Linked DNA regions of Homo sapiens: all the other regions are linked to region 3. Evidence: promoter capture Hi-C in 16 types of primary human blood cells and fetal thymus (Javierre and others, 2016). All regions are on one chromosome and are shown on one strand. The core of a region is centred on a gene start or on the middle of the fragment in contact, and the rest is flanking DNA. Distances in the headings are between cores, read along the strand shown. Region 1 has its middle 33 kb from the start of TMEM30B. Region 2 overlaps SIX4 (SIX homeobox 4). Region 3 holds the start of TRMT5 (tRNA methyltransferase 5).

The links. Contacts are between HindIII fragments. The CHiCAGO score rates a contact against its expected background, and 5 or more counts as called.
Region 1: a fragment that was not itself captured here is called in contact with the fragment with the promoter of TRMT5 in region 3 in 3 of 17 cell types (M2 macrophages, endothelial precursors and M1 macrophages); the score reaches 11.5 in M2 macrophages.
Region 2: a fragment that was not itself captured here is called in contact with the fragment with the promoter of TRMT5 in region 3 in 5 of 17 cell types (endothelial precursors, naive CD8 T cells, erythroblasts and 2 more); the score reaches 9.6 in endothelial precursors.

The regions. Positions count from the first base shown.
Region 1 is chr14:61,246,888-61,250,269 of GRCh38, forward strand. It overlaps a transcript of PRKCH not described here. Among named protein-coding and RNA genes, the nearest start is that of TMEM30B, 33 kb to the right of the region's middle. The HindIII fragment of the contact is 684 bases long and covers 1,672-2,355 here.
Region 2 is chr14:60,716,490-60,719,890 of GRCh38, forward strand. SIX4 (SIX homeobox 4) reads right to left here. Exons shown (of 3, transcript NM_017420.5): 2 at 3,271-3,401. Among named protein-coding and RNA genes, the nearest start is that of SIX4, 6.2 kb to the right of the region's middle. The HindIII fragment of the contact is 4,804 bases long and covers 1-3,401 here.
Region 3 is chr14:60,979,701-60,983,299 of GRCh38, forward strand. It overlaps TRMT5 (tRNA methyltransferase 5), which reads right to left and starts at 1,379. Exons shown (of 5, transcript NM_020810.3): 1 at 1,263-1,379; 2 at 1-186. The coding sequence starts at 1,273. SLC38A6 (solute carrier family 38 member 6) reads left to right here and starts at 1,545. Exons shown (of 16, transcript NM_153811.3): 1 at 1,545-1,682; 2 at 2,808-2,938. The coding sequence starts at 1,578. RefSeq lists an enhancer at 1,269-1,648. The HindIII fragment of the contact is 5,504 bases long and covers 1-3,599 here.

The sequences.
Region 1 (3,382 bases), core at 764-3,263, 270 kb after region 3:
ATGTCAGCACTTTTTCTCATGTCTTTCCAGGCCCATGAGACCCTCTTCGGCCCCCATTGTTGGCCTGCCTGTCTCCCAATGGTTATTTGAGAAACAGCTCAGGGTAACAGCTCCAGGCTTCCATGCTGAGATGCTCTCTAGCCCTGACTCTTCTTCAACAGAGAATTGCCTGCATCACGTTGAAATGCCTCATCTCCCACCTTCACTGGGAACACCGTAAAGGCAGGAACTATGTCCTATTCATTGAATAATCAATAATCCTCCCCAATATAGTATATGGTAAGAGTTGGCATTCAAAAATATATGATAAACTAAACTAAATGATGACTTCCCAAAAAGAAAGTGTCCCCTTAAAGCAAAGTTCCCTAGGACATTAGACTTTTTTTTTTTTTAAACTCTGTAGGAACACAACGTATACAGATACTTCATTATTGTTACTAGGTTTCTCTATATGTTCAATGTATACCTCAGCCCCTTAGGAACTGGTTTAAATGAAAATCCAAGAAGTTTTGAAAACTGATTGATTAAATGATGTTTGGTAGAATGAATGAAAGGAATTGAAAGTTGGCCAGGCATGGTGGCTCACGCCTGTAATCCCAGCACCTTGGGAGGCCGAGGTGGGCAGATCACCTGAGGTCAGGAGTTCGAGACCAGCCTGGCCAACATGGTGAAACCCTATCTCTCCTAAAAATACAAAATTTAGCCAGGTATAGTGGCATGTGCCTGTAATCCCAGCTACTTGGGAGGCTGAGGCAGGAGAATCGCTTGAACCCTGGAGGCGGAGGTTACAGTGACCCGAGATTGCACCACTGCATTCCAGCTTGAGAGACAGAGTGAGACTCCATCTCAAAAAAAAAAAAAAAAAAAAAAAGAAAGAAAGAAAGGAATTGAACAGAAAAAATAAGCCATAGAGCATCTGACTTATGGAGGCTTTTAAAACACCCTGCAGTAGACGAGGTAAAGTTACACAGTTACCTGAAGACAACAGTAGAGATCATCTGGAAATACTGGCATTGGTAGGCTGACCTCCATGTCCCCATGGGCCTTATTTTCTATAATTCTAAAATGGCTTTCAAATACAGGATACTCCATCAACTTGGAGATGTAATCATCCAGTGTCATTTCACAGTGGTGCAGCTGTAAGACTTCCTTGTATGGTCTGGGAGTGTGTTTCTAAGAAATAGGAGTGCTAAACGAAATGAGTCAAACATACCTCAGTTCTCATGAGTTATATCCCCTGACCACATTATTTATCACCTAAAATCAATATCCTCTAGATGTCTTTATCTTCTTGGTGTTCTCTAGCACTCCTGTCCTGGTGGGTTGACCCATATCTAAAATGCAACCTCATCCATTCAACTGGAACTCACCCACCTAGAGTTACTGGAAAACTTGCATTTCACATTTGGCATGTTACCTCAACCATCAAAATAATCTGGAGTTGGTTTATCCTTTGGAAAACTATTTGCTGCAAGTCAAAAAATCATTAGTCAGAAAAAGGATGTTAATGACAGAAAAACCAGAGCAGCATAAACAAAGCTAAGATACTGGCTGCCAACCACTCAACCTGTGGAAGGGCAGATGGAGGGGGTGCTTTTTGGCCCTCAGACTTCATACCAGCTTACCAGCACCGTAACTATCAATACCATCTGAGGGGGCCTGAACAAGGAAAGCTTATGTGGTCAAAAGGGGCAAGGAGATGCTTCAGAAATTCCAACTCCTCTTGAAGAGTGTCCAGTACTGGGAATCAAAATTAACAAAATTATCCAATAAACCTCCTGCCTCACCACTGCAATGCAAATATTTTCTTTTCTTTTTCCCCTCAGAATGTGAAGTTAAAACTCACCTAATTCAATGGTTTTATGTATGTATGTATGTATGTATGTATGTATGTATGTATGTATGTATGTATGTGTGTGTGTGTATGTATTTAGAGACAGCATCCCACACTGTTGCCCAGGCTGAGTGCAGTGGCTTGATCTCGGGTCACTGCAACCTCTGCCTCCCGGATTCAAGCAACTCTCATGCCTCAGCCTCCCAAGTAGCTGGGATTACAGACATGCACCACCATTCTCGGCTAATTTTTGTATATTCGGTAGCGACGGGGTTTCGCCATGTTTACCTGGCTGGTCTGAAACTCCTGACCTCAGGTGACTCGCCTGCCTCGGCCTCCCAAAATGCTGGGATTATAGGCATGAGCCACTGTGCCTGGCCTCGATGGTTCAATTTATATGGACAACAAGCAACTGGAAACCCTGGCATTATAAGCAGCATATTTATTGTGTATGGTGTGGTCTAATTCTAGATAAACCACTTATAAAACCACCTATCCCCACTTAGGTCTCCAGTTAAAGAAGCTTTAACAGTGACTGCAGCTTCATCTGTATAGTTGCTTCTCCTCTAACAATTATGGCTGGGACACAGCGCCCTTCTCTAGAAATGAGTGCTAGAGCCAGGGAGCAGGGGAGGAGTCAGTCTATCCGAATGCAAGTTCTAAATGTAAGAAGGTGTCTGTTTTGTACACACTCACTTTGGCAGCACATATACTTAAAAAAACATTGGAGTCATACAGAGAAGATTAGTATGCATGGTCCTTTACAAGTATGATGTGCAAATTTGTAACGCGAAGCTTTCCAAAAAAAAAAAAAAAAGGGAAGTGTTGACATAAGTGTGAAGACCATGATAAACAGGTATAGAGATTACCATTTGCTCCACCAATGGCAAATTTTTTTTTATTATTTTTTATTGTTTTGAGACAGAGTCTCGCTCTGTCTCCAGGCTGGAGTGCAGTGGTGCAATCTCAGCTCACTGCAACCTCCGCCTCCTGGATTCAAGCGATTCTCCTGCCTCAGCCTCCTGAGTAGCTGGGATTACAGGTGCATGCCACCACACCCAGCTAATTTTTGTATTTTTAGTAGAGATGGGGTTTCACCATGTTGGTCAGGCTGGTCTCAAACTCCTGACCTCGTGATCCACCCACCTCGGCTTCCCAAAGTGCTGGGATTACAGGCGTGAGCCACCACGCTTGGCCCACCAATGGCAATTTACCCAAATGTATTGAAAACTTATGTCCACAAAAAAAATCTGCATGGCTGGGCACGGCGGCTCATGCCTGTAATCCCAGCACTTTGGGAGGCCGAGATGGGTGGATCACTTGAGGTCAGGAGTTCAAGGCCAGCCTGGCCAACATGGTGAAACCCCATCTCTACTAAAAATAGAAAAATTAGGCAGGCACGGTCGTGGGCGCCTGTAATCCCAACTATTCGGGAAGCTGAGGCACAAGAATCACTTGAACAGAGGTTGCAGTGAGCCGAACTCCAGCCTGGGCGATAGAGTGAGACTCAGTCTCAAAAATAAATAAATAAATAAATAAATAAATAAA
Region 2 (3,401 bases), core at 108-2,607, 260 kb before region 3:
ATCCACCCGCCTCGGCCTCCCAAAGTGCTGGGATTACAGGCATGAGCCACCGCGCCTGGCCAATTTTTTAAAAATTTTTGTAGAGATGAGGTCTCACTATGTTGCCCAGGCTGGTCTGGAATTCCTGGGCTCAAGTGATCCTCCTGCCTCAGCCTCCCAAAGTGTTAGAATTACAGGCGTGACACCACATCTGGCCTCAGTAAACTACTTTTTTGAGAGAGCAGCCCAATGTTAAAGGTAATTAATTCACCTAAAACATTTTCCTTCCTGAAGTATTAGAATATTGTGATTATATTATCACCTCTATTGATAAATAAGTGCCACAGGGCTGTTTATGTCTTCCAAATATTTTTAATGCAAAGGAATGTCTTCAAGTAAAAAGAAAACACTGCATATGAACCCTTTTAAAACATTTAACTAGAAAGTTTAATCACAGAAATACCAGTGTTAAGAAAAACATTTCTAAGTATGTTTCAGTTATTCTCTTACATTTCTGTTTCAGACCACACATATGAAAAAACTGCTTTTATTTGAAAACACTGCCTTCAACTTAAGTATGCTTTAAAACTCTTATTTTTATTTATTTATTTATTTATTTTTGAGATAAGGGGTTTTGCTCTTGTTGCCCAGGCTGGAGTGCAATGGCGTGATCTCGGCTCACTGCAACCTCCACCTCCTGGGTTCAAGCGATTCTCCTGCCTCAGCCTCCTAAGTAGCTGGGATTACAGGCATGTGCCACCATGCCAGCCTAATTTTTGTTTTTTTTAGTAGAGACGGGGTTTCAATATGTTAGGCTGGTCTGGAACTCCTGACCTCAGGTGATCCACCCGCCTTAGCCTCCTAAAGTGCTGGGATTAACAGGCGTAAGCCACTGTGCCCGGCGTCTTTAAAATTCTTGTAGGCAGCTGATTTGTGGCAAAAAAACATCTCAAATAGATGTTTAGTTTATTGTGTGTATGTTTATGAAATTGTTTGCCAATGTATGCATGAACAAAATGATTAGTTATCTTTTTATAGAGCCATAAATAGCATAATACATGCAACATTTTCCCCAACTGCTACTGAATATAAATACTTCTGAATTTGTAGAAATTATAACATATATAAAAGAGAATTTGATCTAAAATTTGATTTTTGAGCATAACTACAACTGAAGTAAAAATTGAACAACAATTTTAAGATAAAAAAATCCAACTGAAAAACCATATAGATACAAAGCATTACTTTGTAATGATAAGAAAAAAATCAGGCCAGGCGCTGTGGCTCATGCCTGTAATCCCAGCACTTTGGGAGGCTGAGGTGAGCAGATCACAGGAGTTCAAGACCAGCCTGGCCAACATAGCAAAACCCTCTCTCTGTTAAACACACGAAGATTAGCCGGTCATGGTGATGCACGCCTGTAGTCCCAGCTACTAGGGAGGCTGAGGCAGGATAATCACTTGAACACGGGAGGCAGAGGCTGCAGTGAGCCGAGATCGCGCCACTGTACTCCAGCCTGGGTGACAAAATGAGTCTCCGCCTAAAAATAATAATAATAATAATAATAATAATCTTAGTTGCTCAGACTGTAAAGTGAGTAAAAGATGTAGATATTCTACTTTTCCACATAAATCCCAACTATAGAAAGATAAGTCTATCTTGTCAAGACATTTTAAAGAATGGCTCAGTATCTGTTTGTGAGAAAAAACTGAATCCCCAAAATGTTTTATTGAGAACTGCAATACCTAACTACCATAGAAATGTTGCTTACTGGATTAAACTTAACTATCTGGTTAAACTTAGACTGTCTGTTCAACTCACCCAGACAGTCTAAGATTTGATCTTACTTATTTTAACTGAAAATGCTATTCTTATTCCTATTAAATGTCCCATTTAAAAACTCAGCTATTAGTTCATAATAATTTTCTATGGCAGTGCTCCTCTAGATTACACAATTAAAAGTATTTCTACTTTTCTCCTCCCCCAACATACATAACTCATTCTTTCTGCTCAAATTTGTTGCCTTTAAAATGTGACCTGTTTGGAAATTTTCCAAATGAGAGAAAAGGGGTTAGATCCACATTAAATTATTATCAAACTAAGCACTTTGGCTTTCCCTGTGGTTTTCATATTTTTGCCCTATGTTAGATAGTAACTTAACTCTTTCCATAACTTGGAACAATGATGAACTGAATAGTATGCTGCAGGAATGTCTTGTTTTAGTACCATTTTGCCTAAAGAAATGCAAATGTACAGAATGAAATTTAGAACAATTTTTCCATTAATTCCTTCAATAAGCTGACATAGACCATAGTTGTGGTAACAAGAGAGTTGTGCATAAATTGATTTTTTTGGGGGGGTGGTAAAACCATCTTATAGGAAGCAGACCTTTAAAGCCAACAATTACTACTTTGGTTTTGTAAAAATCTGGATTTTCAGATTTGTCTACAAGAAGGCAAACGTGCATTAAGATCTACCCTTCCTGAATTCAAGGGATTATGCAAACTCCACTGCCAAATTCTAACCATTTCTATTTCTTTAAAGAGAAAATGACATAGAGGATCCAGGCTTGCTTAAAGTCAGTGAAGAACTAATATATCAGCCTCAGTTTTCCTGAATTTCATTTAAGTGCTTTCTCTGGAAGATTGCTGTTAGTAAAGCCACAAACATATAAAATAAGGCTTACTATTATCTTCACAAATAAACCCACACATTTAGGGGGTTAGTATATATGCTGAGCGATAGAAATCCAATGGCATATTCCTCTGATTTTCTTTTAGGTCTGTTAGTCTTCATTATAGGAGGAAACAGGATTCAAACATAATTGATCCGGTCTTTTTAGCTTGTTCTTCTAAAACATTTTTTGGTCAAATAAATAATGCTTAGGTAAAGTGTATGCATTCTTACCAACTGCTAGACTAATTTTGTGTTCTTAGCAATTTTATTAATTTTTAATATTAAAATGCCAAGCAGTGAGTTATTTTGTAAGCACTGATTGACTTATCATATTTCTGTAATTGTAGAACTGGCAGGACTTGCTATGAACTGTATTTTTCCATTCAGTTGTTAGTAAAATAAAAGCCCATCCTCATGATGCAAGGGAATAAAGCAACCTGGATATGACATGGGTATTGTGAAAGAGGAGAATCACATCAAGGCTACTCTACAGCTTCGGCAGCTAATAAGGTACCTGAACAGAAACATCAATCTATAGCTATCACCAAATGCGTCACTTACAGCAGCTGATGAACACATTTGCTGGTGCATTAAGGTACCAAATGAGATTGTTACCTTGTGAAGCTGCCACTGACACAGGGGGCAGCTGCAGTGGAGAGAATCCAATGCTCCCATTAAGGAACTGGCTGTTTGCTCCGGAATTGGGGATCTGGACAATGCCATACTGGTTAATTTGCACTGGTGTA
Region 3 (3,599 bases), core at 129-2,628:
TGTGTTTCTGTTTCTGGCATGGTTGAGAATCTTTTTCTTTGACCCAATAAGAAAATACCAGGTGCTTCCAAAAGCATCTGTGTCAGGGATGTCCAAGCTACTGGAATCAACGATTTTGATTCAGTTATGCTATGGCTTTCCAGTTTCAGAAATCTTCCTGAGAATCCAAATGGCCTCCATAAGATCCTTAAAAAAAAAAAAAAAAAATTCACACACGACAGCTTTTGAGAATAAAAATCTAAATTCTACTATCTCAAATAACGGGCTAAATGCTGACAAATAAAACGTTTAGTGATGTGTGGGAAGTATACTATCTTTTCCAGACTAGGATGACTTCTTCAGGAAGTCGTATTAGTGGTAGATAATAGTGGTATATATTAAATTTACACCTTCAACCCATCTGCTCCCAGTTCAGAGGGCTTAGTGATCCATTAGCCATACTCAATGATCCTCTTCACCCACAATTTTCTAGATAATACATTTGGGATTGGAAGACTGAAGTATGAGTTAAATGGTCATCTGTAAATGAAATAGTCATTATACATGACCATTACTAGTGGTGATATTTATTAGGATAGTCTCATGGGTGCTTATTGTGTCAGATACTGCGCTAAATGCTTTATGTACATTATGAATCTTGGGAGGTGTGCAGTATTGCACCCTCATTTTGTAAATAAGTAAACTAAAGCTCAGACGTAAGGTAACCCACCCAAAGTCTCCCAGCTGATAAGTGGCTAAACATGGATTAAAACCTAGTTTTGACTGACTTCGGTGCTTGTGTTCTTAATATATTGCTCTGTTGTTTGTTTTCGATGCTTTACTGCCACATGTCCTGCCTTTAACTAGAGGCTTCTGTATTTTGAGGACGAGAGCTTTGCTGATTGTTATATGCATAGTATCAGTTATTCACTGTCTTCTAAAATACCAAAGAATTTACTTGTAAGGGGAAAGGGCCCTGTCCCAGAATCCTGTAAAGCAACGAAGTCTAACTTCACCGTCAGAGATCAAATTGGTTCTAGCAGCTGACCAGCTGGGTGACCCTGGATAAATTACTATAAGTCTCGGTTTTCCCACCAGTAAAATGTGGCGAAAGGCTTTTGAAACATTCCTTACTATCCAGAACCTCGAAACTAAGCTCAGCACCTAGGCGGGTGGGTGACCTCGCGATGTTTCTGTGCCCAGGCAGCACATGGCAGAGAGCAGCCCTGGGCGGGCTGGTACCTCCCCTGGACCATTAGCCCCTAACGCGGCCGCCACCTCACCAAAGCACCATTCCAATTCCCCACGTCGCTCTGCAGCTGGATCCGCGAGCCGACCCCTCACCTCCCGCTCCGGTACCGATCGGATGTGGGTCGCGGGTGGATGGGCGGGTCTTCTATGACATCATCACTGTTCGCCGCGAAGAGGGCGCGCGTCATCAGATCAAGTCGACTCGCTCCTCTCCTTCCAGGCCCTGGTGAAGTACGGAATGCCGGAAGGGCCGGGCTCAAAGCTCCGCCTCTGGCGCGACCGACGACTGGAGCGCAGGGCAGGGGTAGAGGCTCGTAGATGGAACTGGTAGTCAGCTGGAGAGCAGCATGGAGGCGTCCTGGGGGAGCTTCAACGCTGAGCGGGGCTGGTATGTCTCTGTCCAGCAGCCTGAAGAAGCGGAGGCCGAAGAGTTGAGTCCGTTGCTAAGCAACGTAAGTGGGCTGTGTTCGCTTCCCCGCGCTGACGCCCTCCGGCTTCCCTCAAGTGCCTGCCAAATAAGACCCAGAAAAGGAGGACCGCACCGGGACAGGGGAGATGCTGGAGCCTGAACCCTGGGGGATGGGGTCTGAAGGCAGCCGCCGAGATTCAGATGAGATTGGCGCAGTTATGAACGTGATAGCAGCCTAGCATACTCTAGAAAGAAAAGATGAAAAGCGTCGGGTGGAAGAGATGCAGCGTTGAGTGGAAGCTGCGAACATGATGGGATGAGCGGCCCTAGGATTATGTACTCACTGCTGTTAGTTAGTATTTTTGTCACCTTATTTTCTCCACCAGTCTCGTGAGGTCTTTGCAAGAGTCACAGGATTTTCCTCTTCCGACTTAGTCATGGGGGGAGGGAAAATAATAAACATTTTAATACAGAAATTCTTAGCGGTAGAATGGAAGTGGCTTGGTAGTAAGTGCATAGCACGTTCCTGACCCTAAAGCCTGTGCAGTGGGCACTCCGCTTTTTAACTCGAGTCCTAGACACTGTTCCCAGGACTTTGTTCCCGGTGCTGTTTGTGGGGAGGGGGATGTTTTCAGGGATACTGCCAGAACAACGTGAATTGCTTCTGTTTATAATATTGTCATTGCAAGATATTCCTGACCATCCTTCCAGTTTGGTAGAACTAATTCATTAGATATATAAGTAGAGATTAGTTGTGCAGTCCTAGTAATTGAGGAGAAACAACTGCCCACAGCAGTCCCAGGTTGACTCAGCAATTCTTTAGTAATCACATGAGCTGAGGCCTTATCCCTCCTCTCTCTCCCCACTCCATTCCCATCCTATCTTCATCTCTTGCAGTCACAAGGTTAGTCATGGCCCTTCCTGAACTCTGCCTGTCTTGTGTACTGGTGGAAATCATTTTCCTAAGAAACCCTAGATTCCTGGAGCTGCAGTAGTGGGAGGTGGGAAGGAAAGGAAAGGAAATTAGTGTTGGTTAAGCAACGAGTGTGTCATACAAACCCTGGTGGTTTGCAGCTTTTTTCCATAATCTTTCATTTATGGAATTTCTTTACGAAATTTTAACTTCACCGTCCAAACATTTAACACTACTAAATTTGTGTGCTTACAGGAACTTCACAGACAGCGATCCCCAGGTGTTTCATTTGGTTTATCAGTGTTTAATTTGATGAATGCCATCATGGGAAGTGGCATCCTTGGCTTAGCTTATGTTTTGGCTAATACCGGTGTCTTTGGATTTAGGTGAGTCTTCATATTTTAGCATCAAATTTTTTTTTCCATTTTGATAATATACGGAGAAGTAGAGAGATAGATTCCAGAAGCTGCTATTATACAATTTCTAGTTAGTTATTTCTGGGGTTTTAGCATTTTTCTTGTTATTCTTGTTGCTAGTGTGTACCTTGGAGGGCTACTACATAGCTTCTTAAATACACAGAAGTGTGACTAGTTTTTAAAAATGGGAACTTGATCCACATTTCATTTATAATGAAATATGACACTTAAGAGTGGCATATTCATTGTATCTCCTTGGCCAAAGTGAATCAAAGCCATGCAGATTAACTTCCAAATAGCAATTTTGTGAGTGCAAATACAACACATAATCTTTTCATTCCTCGCTGTCTCTTTGTATTGTTAAGTAGTCTTATTTCACTTTCAGAGGCCAGACATGTGTTTTGTGCCTGTTCTTTTTTATGTTTCAGGACTTAGCTTGTAGGCCAGTTTGCCCAAAATAGAAGACAATCCTGGATATTCTGTGCTTTCATAGTACTTTGTATATTCATTCTGTTATTATAATTGTTACAATGATATGTTTGGAAATTAATGTTCCCACTAAACTGAAATCCTTTACAACTGGAGGTCAAGGCAGGCGGATCACTGGAACCCACGAGTTTGAGACCAACCT